3 separate regions of the Homo sapiens genome follow, and all the other regions are linked to region 3. Evidence: promoter capture Hi-C in 16 types of primary human blood cells and fetal thymus (Javierre and others, 2016). All regions are on one chromosome and are shown on one strand. Each heading gives the region's core, a stretch centred on a gene start or on the middle of the fragment in contact. The rest is flanking DNA. Distances are from core to core; before and after follow the strand shown. Region 1 has its middle 6.3 kb from the start of LCE7A. Region 2 has its middle 12 kb from the start of PRR9. Region 3 holds the start of SPRR1A (small proline rich protein 1A).

Evidence for each region. Contacts are between HindIII fragments. The CHiCAGO score rates a contact against its expected background, and 5 or more counts as called.
Region 1: a fragment that was not itself captured here is called in contact with the fragment with the promoter of SPRR1A in region 3 in 1 of 17 cell types (naive CD8 T cells); the score reaches 5.1 in naive CD8 T cells.
Region 2: a contact is called between a fragment that was not itself captured here and the fragment with the promoter of SPRR1A in region 3, in 2 of 17 cell types (megakaryocytes and erythroblasts). The highest score is 7.0, in megakaryocytes.

Annotation. Positions count from the first base shown.
Region 1 is chr1:152,851,773-152,855,601 of GRCh38, reverse strand. No RefSeq gene overlaps it. Among named protein-coding and RNA genes, the nearest start is that of LCE7A, 6.3 kb to the left of the region's middle. The HindIII fragment of the contact is 6,660 bases long and covers 1-3,829 here.
Region 2 is chr1:153,227,791-153,231,478 of GRCh38, reverse strand. No RefSeq gene overlaps it. Among named protein-coding and RNA genes, the nearest start is that of PRR9, 12 kb to the right of the region's middle. The HindIII fragment of the contact is 1,275 bases long and covers 1,265-2,539 here.
Region 3 is chr1:152,981,375-152,985,330 of GRCh38, reverse strand. It overlaps SPRR1A (small proline rich protein 1A), which reads right to left and starts at 1,250. Exons shown (of 2, transcript NM_005987.4): 1 at 1,206-1,250; 2 at 1-119. The coding sequence starts at 100. The HindIII fragment of the contact is 3,855 bases long and covers 267-3,956 here.

The DNA.
Region 1 (3,829 bases), core at 854-3,353, 130 kb after region 3:
ATGATGGGATTCATAACAGGGCCACTGAGGGACCAATGCTGCTTGTGTTTCTCTTGGAGCACAGAAAATAGTGATGACCCATGATCAATGACCTGCCTCATGGTTCTGTGCCCATCTGAATTAGTGGGTAGAAGAAAGGGACAATAACTATTCAGCATAACATATTCTCATCACCTTTATTAGGTGGCCTTAAAACAGGCACTCCATTCTATCTGTTTAGTGTGAACTAGAGAGGTAGGCCCATCATGTATAATATGGTGGTTAAAAGAATTACTGTGAGAAAAGAAACCAACACAGTGCCCAGCAATTAACTGATATTCCATAAGCTGCAGTTACAACTATAAGCATTATTATTACAGTCCCAGTTATTCTCCAGATGCTGAGCTCTATTCCTTTAGGATGGGGGATGCACACCAATATCATCTCGTACCAGTGTTGTGGCCCCTCTTTTCCCTAATATCTCCAGCTGTAGAAAACTCCCTTGGAAAGAAGCAGCAGGTCATCCCTGGAGCACAAGCCTAGTCCTGACTCTGACCAGCTATGAGCCACTTGCCTCTTCTGGGCCTCAGTCTCTTCATTTGTAAAATGAGTATTGTTGCTTTCATCTTGATCACTAAGGTAATTATGAGATCTCTGTGCTTGTGGTTGCTCTAGACCATATTAGAGCCTGGGTGACTCCCTGATTTATTGTCTCCGATAGCTTCGCCAATCCTTCTCCTATGTAACACATGGAACGATGCCCTCTTTGGATCCTAGGCCCTGCCCTGGCTTCTTGGTTGACTTTGGTGAATGGAGCAATAGCTAAAACACCTTATCAGGAGCCTGTATTTACACATGTCACCATCAAGTGATGCCTGTTAATCCTAAAATAGGAAGGGATGAAGAGTGATCATCTTGCCTATCATTTTCCTCCAGACCCAAGAATATATTTTTAAATAAGAATATATTTCTAAAATCCCAAGAATATGTTTCTGAATCTTCTAAGAAAGGAGACTCCACTGCCTACAATGACAGAGCTTTCTGACTCCTGTGAAACTTCATGTCTTTTTGCTGATGTTAAAGATGAATTCTACCAACTAAGGTGAGCAGAACAGATCTTTGGCTCCACCGCCCTCCTATTCTTGGAAACAGTTGTTCTGATGATATCTCTGGCTCATCACAACTCCATGCCTTTGATCTCTCCATCATTTTCTCCACTGTGCCTAAAGGAGATAACCCAGCTGGACTGTATCTCTCATCCTGCAATTAACACATCTTAAGAGAAAGGTAGGGAAGATGAATCCCTCTTATCACCACCCTTCACCTCAAAGCCTGTTTTCAGTAGTGTTTTTACCTAGGAAAGCCACTACAAAACTCTTAAGGGCATGGGGGGACACATTAAGAAGCATTAGGCAAGTTGCTCAATCTTTCTGGAGCCCACACCTTCACCTGTGACACCAAGACCCCGTGTTCCATCACTCTGTGAGCCTGTAGTTCTAAACCATTCATTCTTTTAGTGATGGTGGTCACACAAGGGAAGCCCCTCACATCCCTCCATGCATTGCATTTCACATGCTTTGTAATACGTTGTATTACATTTCACATGCTTTGTAATGCATTGTATTGCATTTCACATGCTTTATTTTCTCTTCTTAACAACCTTGAGAGTTTGTTATTATTGCATCTAGAAAAACTGAATACTGGACAGTTAAAAGTAAGTGCATATCACACAGTCTGTAAGGGTGCAGAGCAATAAGGCAAGCCCGGCAAAGAACTGCGCAAAGCAAGGAAGCTGTCCTGGACTCTCAGTGCTGTTGTAGATCAAGAATTGCAAACCTGGTTGGGAACATGAGCCATCTTGGAAGTACTTTTAAAATGCAGATCCCGGCCAGGTGTGGTGTCTCACGCCTGTAATCCAAACACTTTGGTTGGCCAAGGCAGGGAAATCACAAGGTCAGGAGATTGAAACTATCCTGGCCAACATGGAGAAACCCCATCACTACTAAAAATACAAAAATTAGCTGGGTGTGGTGGTACGCGCCTGTAATCCCAGCTACTCGGGAGGCTGAGGCAGGAGAATGGCTTGAACCCAGGAGGTGGAGATTGAAGTGAGCCGAGATAGTGCCACTGCACTCCAGCCGCCTGGTGACAAAGCGAGATTCTGTCAAAATAATAATAATAATAATAATAAAATAAATGAATAAAAAATAAAAGAAGCAGACACCTGGTCTCTAACTAAGACCTACTGAATCATAATCTCCAAGGAGTGGGTCTTTATGATTTACATTGGTTAACTATTTCCCAGGTTATTCTACCTAGTTTGGTAGCCACTGTCCTGGCATGTTCTGGTAGAACCGTAGAACTATAGCCAGCCCATGAAACATTCTGGTAACAACATTTTCACAGTCCTACCACCTTCCTCTGAGCTCCTCTAGGGATCTTCCTAGGAAATTGAAAGATGCAGGAAGCATAGTAAACTCACAAACTTATTTAGCCTTGCAGAGGCCTTAGAAAGAATGTAGTGTGGTTTTCCACCAGGAGCTTGTATCTCCTCACCCACATGCCTAGTGGTGAGCTTCCTGGCCTAAATGAAAATGCTTTTAGTTGGAGAACTCATTACCTCACAAGGCAGTCCATTTCTTTCCACATTGTTATCTTTGTTAGAAATTTTTCTCCAATAAAATAGGAACACTTTTACACAGTTGGTGAGACTGTAAACTAGTTCAACCATTGTGGAAGACCGTGTGGCAATTCCTCAAGGATCTAGAACTAGAAATACCATTTGACCCAGCCATCCCATTACTGGGTATATACCCAAAGGATTATAAGTCATGCTGCTGTAAAGACACATGCACACGTATGTTTATTGCGGCACTATTCACAATAGCAAGGACTTGGAACCAACCCAAATGTCCATCAATAATAGACTGGATTAAGAAAATGTGGTACATATACACCATGGAAAACTATGCAGCCATAAAAAAGGATGAGTCCATGTCCTTTGTGGGGACATGGATGAAGCTGGAAACCATCATTCTGAGCAAACTATCACAAGAACAGAAAACCAAACACCGCATGTTCTCACTCATAGGTGGGAGTTGAACTATGAGAACACTTGGACACAGGGTGGGGAACACCACACACTGGGGCCTGTCATGGGGTTGGGGGAGTGGGGAGGGATAGCATTAGGAGGTATACCTAATGTAAATGACGAGTTAATGGGTGCAGCACACCAACATGGCACATGTATACATATGTAACAAACCTGCACGTTGTACACATGTACCCTAGAACTTAAAGTATAATAAAAAAAAGAAATTTTTCTCCAAAAAATGCATAAGATCAGATCATAAAGAGGTAATCACTATAATACCTAAATAAAGCAGTTCTTTACATATAGCTGGTACTTACTAGGGGTTCATTGAATGATTGAGTTAATTACAAATAAAATATTTCAGTGGGCTTGGTTATAGGCCTTCATTTTAGAAACAAGAGTTGGAGGTTCACAGAAGTCACCTTACTTAATCCACAAAGTTAAAATAGTGTCAGAATCAAGACTAAACCTAGGGTTGATTAAGTTCCAACCCAGTGTTTATGACTAGGGGTGGATGGAGGAGGAGCAGGGATGCAAGGTAGCAAGAGGAGAGCATGCCCATCCAGCACTACACTTCTGGGAGCACAGCATCACACTTCTGGGAGCACAGCATAGCAGCTCAGTGTTTAGTGTTGGTAGCCAGATTTCCTAACTTCAAGCCTAGGTTTCGTCACTTACTGGTTGTAAACTTTAGGCTTGTCACTTGACATCTCTGCCTTAGTTGCTGGTCTGTAAAATGGTGATAACATCTCCTTC
Region 2 (3,688 bases), core at 653-3,152, 250 kb before region 3:
CCCTCCTGGTTTGGGGAAGTGCTGCTCAGTCCTGCCTCCTCCCACTCACCTTCCCACACCTGGACACCTGCAGCCAGGCATCTTTCATGAAGGCCTCTTCTGTCCTAGAGTAGGTCTGAGCTGGGATTTTCTTTGAGCAGCAAACCAATCCAGCTGCATCCAGGAACCCCACAGACTGCCCTGCTTGGTACCTCCCTTTGCTCCTCAGTCCACTCTGTTCTGTTCTGGCCTCTGTGTCCCCACTCAGGCTGTCCTCATCAAGGTCACCAGCCACTCTGCATTTCTTGACCAGTTAGTATTGGTTGACTCCATTGATTTTCCTTCCTTTCTTGGACACCTGTCTTCTCTTGTCTTTCCAGTCTCCACCCTCCTAGTTTCTCTTCCTTCACTGACCGCTCTTTGTCAGCTGGCTGTACAGGCTCCTTCTGCGCTGTCCAACCTTGAGATCTTGTGGAGTCCTCAGCTCGGTAGGGCCCTCTCTTCTTCTCCTTGGGTGATCTCAGCCACTCACATATCTTTAAATACCTTCTATGTGATGACAGCTCTCAAATATGTACATTTTTGGCCCAGATATCTCTGAGCTTCAGACATGTACCCACATATCTCCTAGTCCTCACCTCTCTGCATCCACCTAGTGGCCTAAGCCATAAACTTGGGAGTATTTCTGCCTTCTTTCTCCTCCTTTACCCCACACATTGAGTCCCCCTGCTACTCCTGTTAGTTATTCCTCCAAAACACTTAGCGTCACCCTCTTGTCTTTGTCTCCACTGCTGCCATCTACCACCTTTAGCCATAACTCTAGTAGCAGGTCCTTCCTCTCCCTATTTCATGCTTCCTCCAACATCCAGCCTTTATACATTTTGCAGATGGAATAATCTTTTGAAGCTTTGAATCAAATAAAAAGCCTCTACTGAGACCCCTTCGGGGTCTTCCCGATGCATTTTGAAAAACATCTGAACAGTATATACATGTTGTCTGAGGTTTGATGGGATACATGCTCAGGCAGGTGTGTGTTTATGCCTGTGAACAAACCTAAACAGATGCAGGTGCATATTCACCCTGGCCACAATGTGCCCACCCCAAGATAGCCCTATTGTTTAGGGTCTGGGACCCATCAGTGTCTGGCATCATGCTTGGCATTAGGTGCTCAGCAGGAGCTCAGTGAATGGATAAATGAGCTTTTGGTGTCCTCTAAGTGTAAACTCCACAAAAACAGCACTTTTGGTCTGTTTACTGCTACATCTCCAGCACCTAAAGGAAAGCTTGGCATACAGTAGCTACTCAACAAAGATTTGTTGAATGAAAAAATAAATGAATGAGAACACAATGAGTAATCTACAGATAGGCTTTGTCATTCTGGCTATTTAGGAATCAAAGGTAATGTGTTCAGTGACACTTTTGTCAGTCAATTCACATTCAAGAAAATGTTCCCTCAGATTTCCTCTCACCTCCAGCACGCTGCCATTGCCACCATCATGTAACCCATCATTTCTGTTGCTCTCACCTCAGATCGGCCTTTCCACATTACCCGAGCTAAAGAGCACCCCTCTTCCCTGGTCATTTTGTTTCATTTTCTTCAATTTCTTATTTATGCATTTGCTGAGTTGCTTTTTGTCTGTCTTCCTCCTCATGTGAGCTCTGGGAGGCAGGGATTCTGTGTATCTGGTTCGCTGCTGTAACTCCAGTGCTTGGCTCATAGGAGATTCTGTGTCACTTACTCTCACATAGGAGAAATTTGTTTTAAGGGAACAATAGAAGTGGTGGAGTCTAGATTTGAATTCCAGAAGTCTGATTCCTGAGCCTATGTCCTGAACCATTATTCGTGTTGCTCCCACCCTATAAGTAATGTAACTCTGTCTTGCACATATAGCCTTCCTCTGACTCTGTTAGATGCTGCATCTCTGTACTCTTGTCTTCTCCACATGGAGCATTGACTGGACCCGAGTGTGTGCGGCCATCTCCAACTCAGGCCAGACTGGGTGTGATTAGTAGAAGGCCAAGTGCCTCTATGGCCAGCAGGTGGTGCTGTTGGGAAGAGAAGAGAAAAGGGGTCCCCAGCGGCTTCTAAAGGAGGGAGGACTGGTTATGAGGCTGGCTTGGGAACCGGGTGATGAGGGAGGTTGAGTTGAGAAGGCCCTGCCAGCTGACCACCTCTTTTCTTTCAACCATGAATGGCGGTGGTGGCCCCCACGATACCACAGTCACCACCATCACCCCTGACCGACAACTCCAGAACACCAAGCTCCCCTCTGAGCTGGCCCTACAGGGCGAGTGGCCAGACTCTCACATGCTCGTCAGTTGAGACAGGGTCTCAAGGATGTAACCCAAACTATACATTCATTTAGTGTAAAGGTTATTCCTTCATGCATTATCCCCTGGATAGGCGACCTTAGGGGATGCCTCTCACTCCCTACCCTAGTTTTTGATGAACTCCTAAGCCATAGATTCAGTTTTAGAGATAAGTATAATAGTCCTTAAAGTATGATATTAAACATGACAGAGAGTGTGTCATCAAAGGTATTTCCCCTGGGTTAAAGCTTGTATTTTTAAACCAAGAATATGGGCATTGGAATCAGATGAGCTGGGTTTCAGCTCTGGCATTGATACTTACTGGCCGGATAATCTTGGTCAAGCTGTTAAACCTTTTGGGTCCTCAGATCATTTATCATTCATTCACTCACTTATTCCCATGTACCAGGATCTAATGGCAAACCACTGTGCCTTAGAAGAAGAGAAGTGAGTGGGAAGAGGTTCCAGTATTTGAGCAATCCCTGGGTGACCAGCCTGGCTGGACCCTCCCACCCCCATGCCTGCTCTCCATGTTGTCACTCAGTGTGGGCACTTCCTGATCCTCAGTGGCATTCAGCATTTTGCACACTCTCTCCTTCCTGACTTTTCTCTTAAATCATTGACTCCTTCTTAATCTTTTGCCAAGGGCTCTCTCTCTTCTCAACCTTTAGCTGTTGAGGTTTCTCAGGGCATGGTCTTAAGTTCCCTTCTTTTCTTAATCTATATTCTGTCACTGGATGATCTATACACCCCAAAGCTAGAATGCTACCCCTACGATGATGGCTCCCAAGTGTAGATCTCCATTCCTGAATTTTTCCCGCGCTCCTGACTCATAGATGTAAGTGCTTACTTTGTATTTCTGCTTGGTTATTCTGTATGCGTCTCAAAATTGACAGGTTCAAAACTGAGCCCCTGGTCTTCTTACCTGGACTGCACCCAAACCTGTTCCTCCTTCAGTCTTTCCCAGCTGCTTCTGGAAATGGTGGCTGCTGCTGCACAGAGACTTGGCTATAGCCATGGTGTCCCCAGTGGCTCCCGCTTCACCTCTTGCTTGCTTCCTCTAATCCATTCTCCACACTTTAACTAGAGCAATATTTACAATCTGCAAATTGAATCTTGTCACTCTCTGCTTAAAAATCTTTAATGCTTCACTCTTAGGGCAAAAGTCAAAACCTGTCACGTGGTCTCAGAGGCTTGTGGGGTCTGCTCCTGCCCACACACCTCCTGTCCCTGTCTGGGGACACAGTCCCTCTCACTCTCTATCTTTGTGTCTGAGACAACAATCAGGCTTTTCCTATATCAGAACCATCTTTTGTTTTCACTATAATTTTTTTCTTTTTGTCACCTGGACAACTCCTCCTACCTCTCCAGTTTCAGATTAAATTTTATTTTCTCATGG
Region 3 (3,956 bases), core at 1-2,500:
TGCATGGTTCCTGGGGTGGAGGCTGGCAAGGTTGTTTCACCTGCTGCTGCTGAGGCTGAGGGGGTGGGGTGCAAGGCTGCTTCTGCTGCTGAGAATTCATGCTTCAAATGTGTTTTTTTCTAGAGACAGAAAGCTGACACAGTGATTCAATTAAAGAAAGATGGATACAAATTCAATGCCAAACAGATTTTATTTCAGGACCCTTTAGAAGAGAAAGCCTTTCATCTCCCTTAACTCCCCCATTACATTTAAAAATGAAATAAGCTTGGATAATTTTCAGGCCCTTTGAAGAGGAGGAGCTAAAAGGCAATTTCTTCTGCTCCATTTTATTGGAGTTCTCTTCTTGGCTCCCTTCCTACCCAAGGCAACTTATATCTGTTCTGGAAAAATGCCCTACTAAAGCTGGCTTCTGAGGGACATGAGGTCCGCATATTAGGTCTTTTGGAAAATGGCATCAGACCACTTTCCTCTCCTAGTACCATGTAGAAAGCCTGTGACTTATAGGATGGCTTTATATTCATCTAAGCCTCTATGGTTTTGCTTCTGGTCTGTGCTTACACAGTCCCTTCCAAATGCTTTTCTTCCCATCTCTGCTTGTCCAAATACCCCTCCATCATAGCTCACATCACTTGACACCCCTAGGAGGGTCTCCTTGAGCAAGGTCTCCCAAAAGTGCACAGCCCTTCTCTGCCCATCTCCGTCATGCCAATTACTATCTACTTTGCATTTCATTTATTTATATATATGTATTACCTTCCTGCTAGGTTTTATGTTTGTTAAGTAAGTACGTTAGGCATTGATTTGTCCAAAGTGCCTAGCATACTGCCTTAAATGGAATAAATGCTCAGTAGAGATCCATCTAATAAATTAAAATTTCTATAAATATCTTGTCAGGGGGAAATTGCAGTGTTACTGAGAGTGCTCTGGGCCTGAGTTCTAGTTCTGCTATGAACTTCCCATGGGCATTTGAACAATCTTCTCCAGGACTCCCAGTTCAATGACTATCTACTGAGGTGGGAGCCCTAACCATCTCTAAGGTCCTTTCAAATCCAGACTGTAATTTAACTTAAAATAAAGATATTCCACTATTCTCTATCTCCCATTGAAACCCTGGATTAACCTGCTTACACATATTTGCCTTTAGCTAATTTCTAATAATGAAAAAGTACACTAGAATTGCCAGTTTGTTGCAATCAGAGACTTACCTGGTATACGGAGCAGAATGGGCTGTGTGGTCCCTTGGGTTTGGTGTGAAGGCAATGGCCAGCTGGCTTTTATAAGATGAATGAGCCCTGCCTCAAGGAAATAGAAGCTCTCGGGCACTCTGTTTTCATTCCTCACCTGTCACACATGACTCACACTACCATCCTCATCACCGGTTGGCTCAGCTTTTTTGATGAACACCACCTGATATTTTTTGGCACTGGCTGGCTGAAAATGATGTCACTGGCCTAATTTTCACTGCCACCCTCATCCTCAGACCCAGGTGCAGGGCTTGCCTTGAGGGAGGGGTGAGCAGCAGGCTTCATGGAGGGTTTCATGAGTTAACCCTGGGGGGACATCTGAGTCCTGTTGAGGCCTTGCCACCTGCTGTCCTTGTCATTGAGATGGTTGTTCCCCGTGTTCTGTGGGACAGGGCACTCTTGCACACATGAATAGGTGGGAAAGGGAGGGGGAGCAGAGGAGCTGAGGTGGGCCCTCCTTGTCTGCCTTGGTGAAGGTGGAAGCTAGAAATAATGAAATGGACTGATTATAGACCCCTTGTCTCAGAGTCCAAGACCCTTCCATCCATTTCCCCCATCTTTTTCCCAATTCCATTAAACTACACACATTCAGAATAATTTACTTATGACTCTCCCACTCTCACCTTCCTCCCCCTGACTGGTTGCTAATCTGGGAAAACCTGCTTTCCTTCACCAACCACACCTTTACCCTTCTCCTACTTCAGGGACTTTCAGGGGCTAATCCTTCTTCTGGGATCACTTTTTCCCTTCACTCCACCCAGACATCTGGCCCTGGCCTTTTCCTCCTTTCTGATCAGGCTAGACTGCCCCCCACCTGAAAACCCAAAAGCCTTTTCTACCTGCCTCCCTGCAGCCCATCCATGGGGTCCTCAATGCTGAATCCTTCTCCACTTTTGCCCACTGCCAGCTCCAGCCCCAATACCTAGAGATCCTGCTGGCTGCAAGGTTTTCCTCCTCCTTCTGGGTCTGTATCTCCTGGGGGCTTTCCGAGGGTCAGAGCTGTTCCTGCTTAAAGCAACGGTGTCCCCACCACAGTGTTTATTTCCTCATTTATTCAACAAATCTCAGTGGGGAGCCTAACATATGCCCATCATGCCTGTCATTCTAGGAGCTCTCTGATGAGGAAGCCCACTTTTCCTCTACAGATCATGAACTCCCCAGGGTAAGAGACAGAGCACAGTTGAGAGCCACTGAGATTATGGATCTCAGAGAGCCTTTAGTTCACACTCCTCAAGGGATGATTGGGGAATCTGAGGCCACCAGAGGTGAAATAACTCACCAAGGTCAAAAAAACAAACCCTAGGAAGAAAAGAATTTTACACAGAAATCCTGTGTTCTCCTTTGTTTTAATTCCTTGTGACTCCCTAATGTCTATGGAGGAAATTAAGCCCAGGCAGAAAATTGATTAGAGGTGGAAAGGGGAGCCCTTCCTGACTGAGAGCTGGGTCACTTGTAGTTCTGGAAAGTTTTAGGAGTGACAGCGTGAGGACACAGAAAGAGCCTTGCCTTGTGGGTAAGCCTTAATCGGTGCTAAGATAAATCCCTTTAAGTAGAAATAAAGATGCTTAATATTTGAGTGGCTCTAAACAGTGGGTGTTTCTAGCTCTGCTAAAGTAAGAAGGGCATGAATTAGAATAGGTGGAAATAAGGTTCAGTTTATCATTACTCAGGGCACCAGGGTCGGAGAAAGGAAGGGAAAAGCCAAAACTAAAATGTCTGCTTCTATCCTGAGTTGCTTTCGCTCTAGGGGAGCTCTCAGAGTGACATCGTGACACAGCTGAGGTGAAGGCACTGGGGGAGGCAGTAGGTGATAAGCCCCTGAGCACCTGCACATGCTTGCCTTCACTCCACGATGGTCAGATTCTGCCCTGCCAAGGAACTTCTCTTTCCTGGGGACACAAGAACAGGGGTTCCCTCAATCTTTCCATAGGCAATTGCCATAAAACTGAGGTCTCTGATTCAGAGCTGCACTCAAAACACAAACTGTTACTAGGTGTGGCCTTTGGAAAATCCAAATCATCCTTAAAACTCAGGTGTTCAGATGGTTCCTCCTCCTCATCTAACCCCTCCTTTACCCAAACACACACCTAAATGTTTGTGGAGCACCTGCTGGCTCCACAGCCAGTGAACCTGAGGCCAAGGTCAGCCTCCCACTGTGTCCATGCAGCCATTGGTCCCTATCCATCTCCATCCTCACACAGTGCCTGGCGTGCAGAAGCTGCTTGGTGACTGGCATTTATAGACCGACTGCCTGGCTGGCTGGCTGGCTGGCTGACTGAATGAATGAATGACTGAATGGCGTTATTTGTAAAGACAGGCTGAGAGTCTACTTTGAAACCTGCCTAGAAGCTCCGGTACACAGTGTACCTGCTGCCCTCCCCACCCACCTGCCTCACTGTCAAACAGTTTAATGCCCCACCTTGCTCCGGGCTGGTGCCAGCCCCACCAGGACACCTGAGCTCCAAGACTCTTGCCTCACTTAGCTCTCCTCTAGGTTTGTGCCCAGGTCCCCTTCTTCACCAAGTCCCCACCCAGGAGCCCTGACAGCAGGGGCTGCTGGAACCTGTTGCTATGTCTGGTAGGATTCTCAGCCCTGCAGGAACCTGCTGCCTAGTTGTCTGTCCTCTGGTGTCACCCAGCTTGTCTCAGGCCCTGGATGATCTGAAGCCACCTCTGAAGCTGGTGTGTTCTCATGCCCTCCCTGGACCTTAG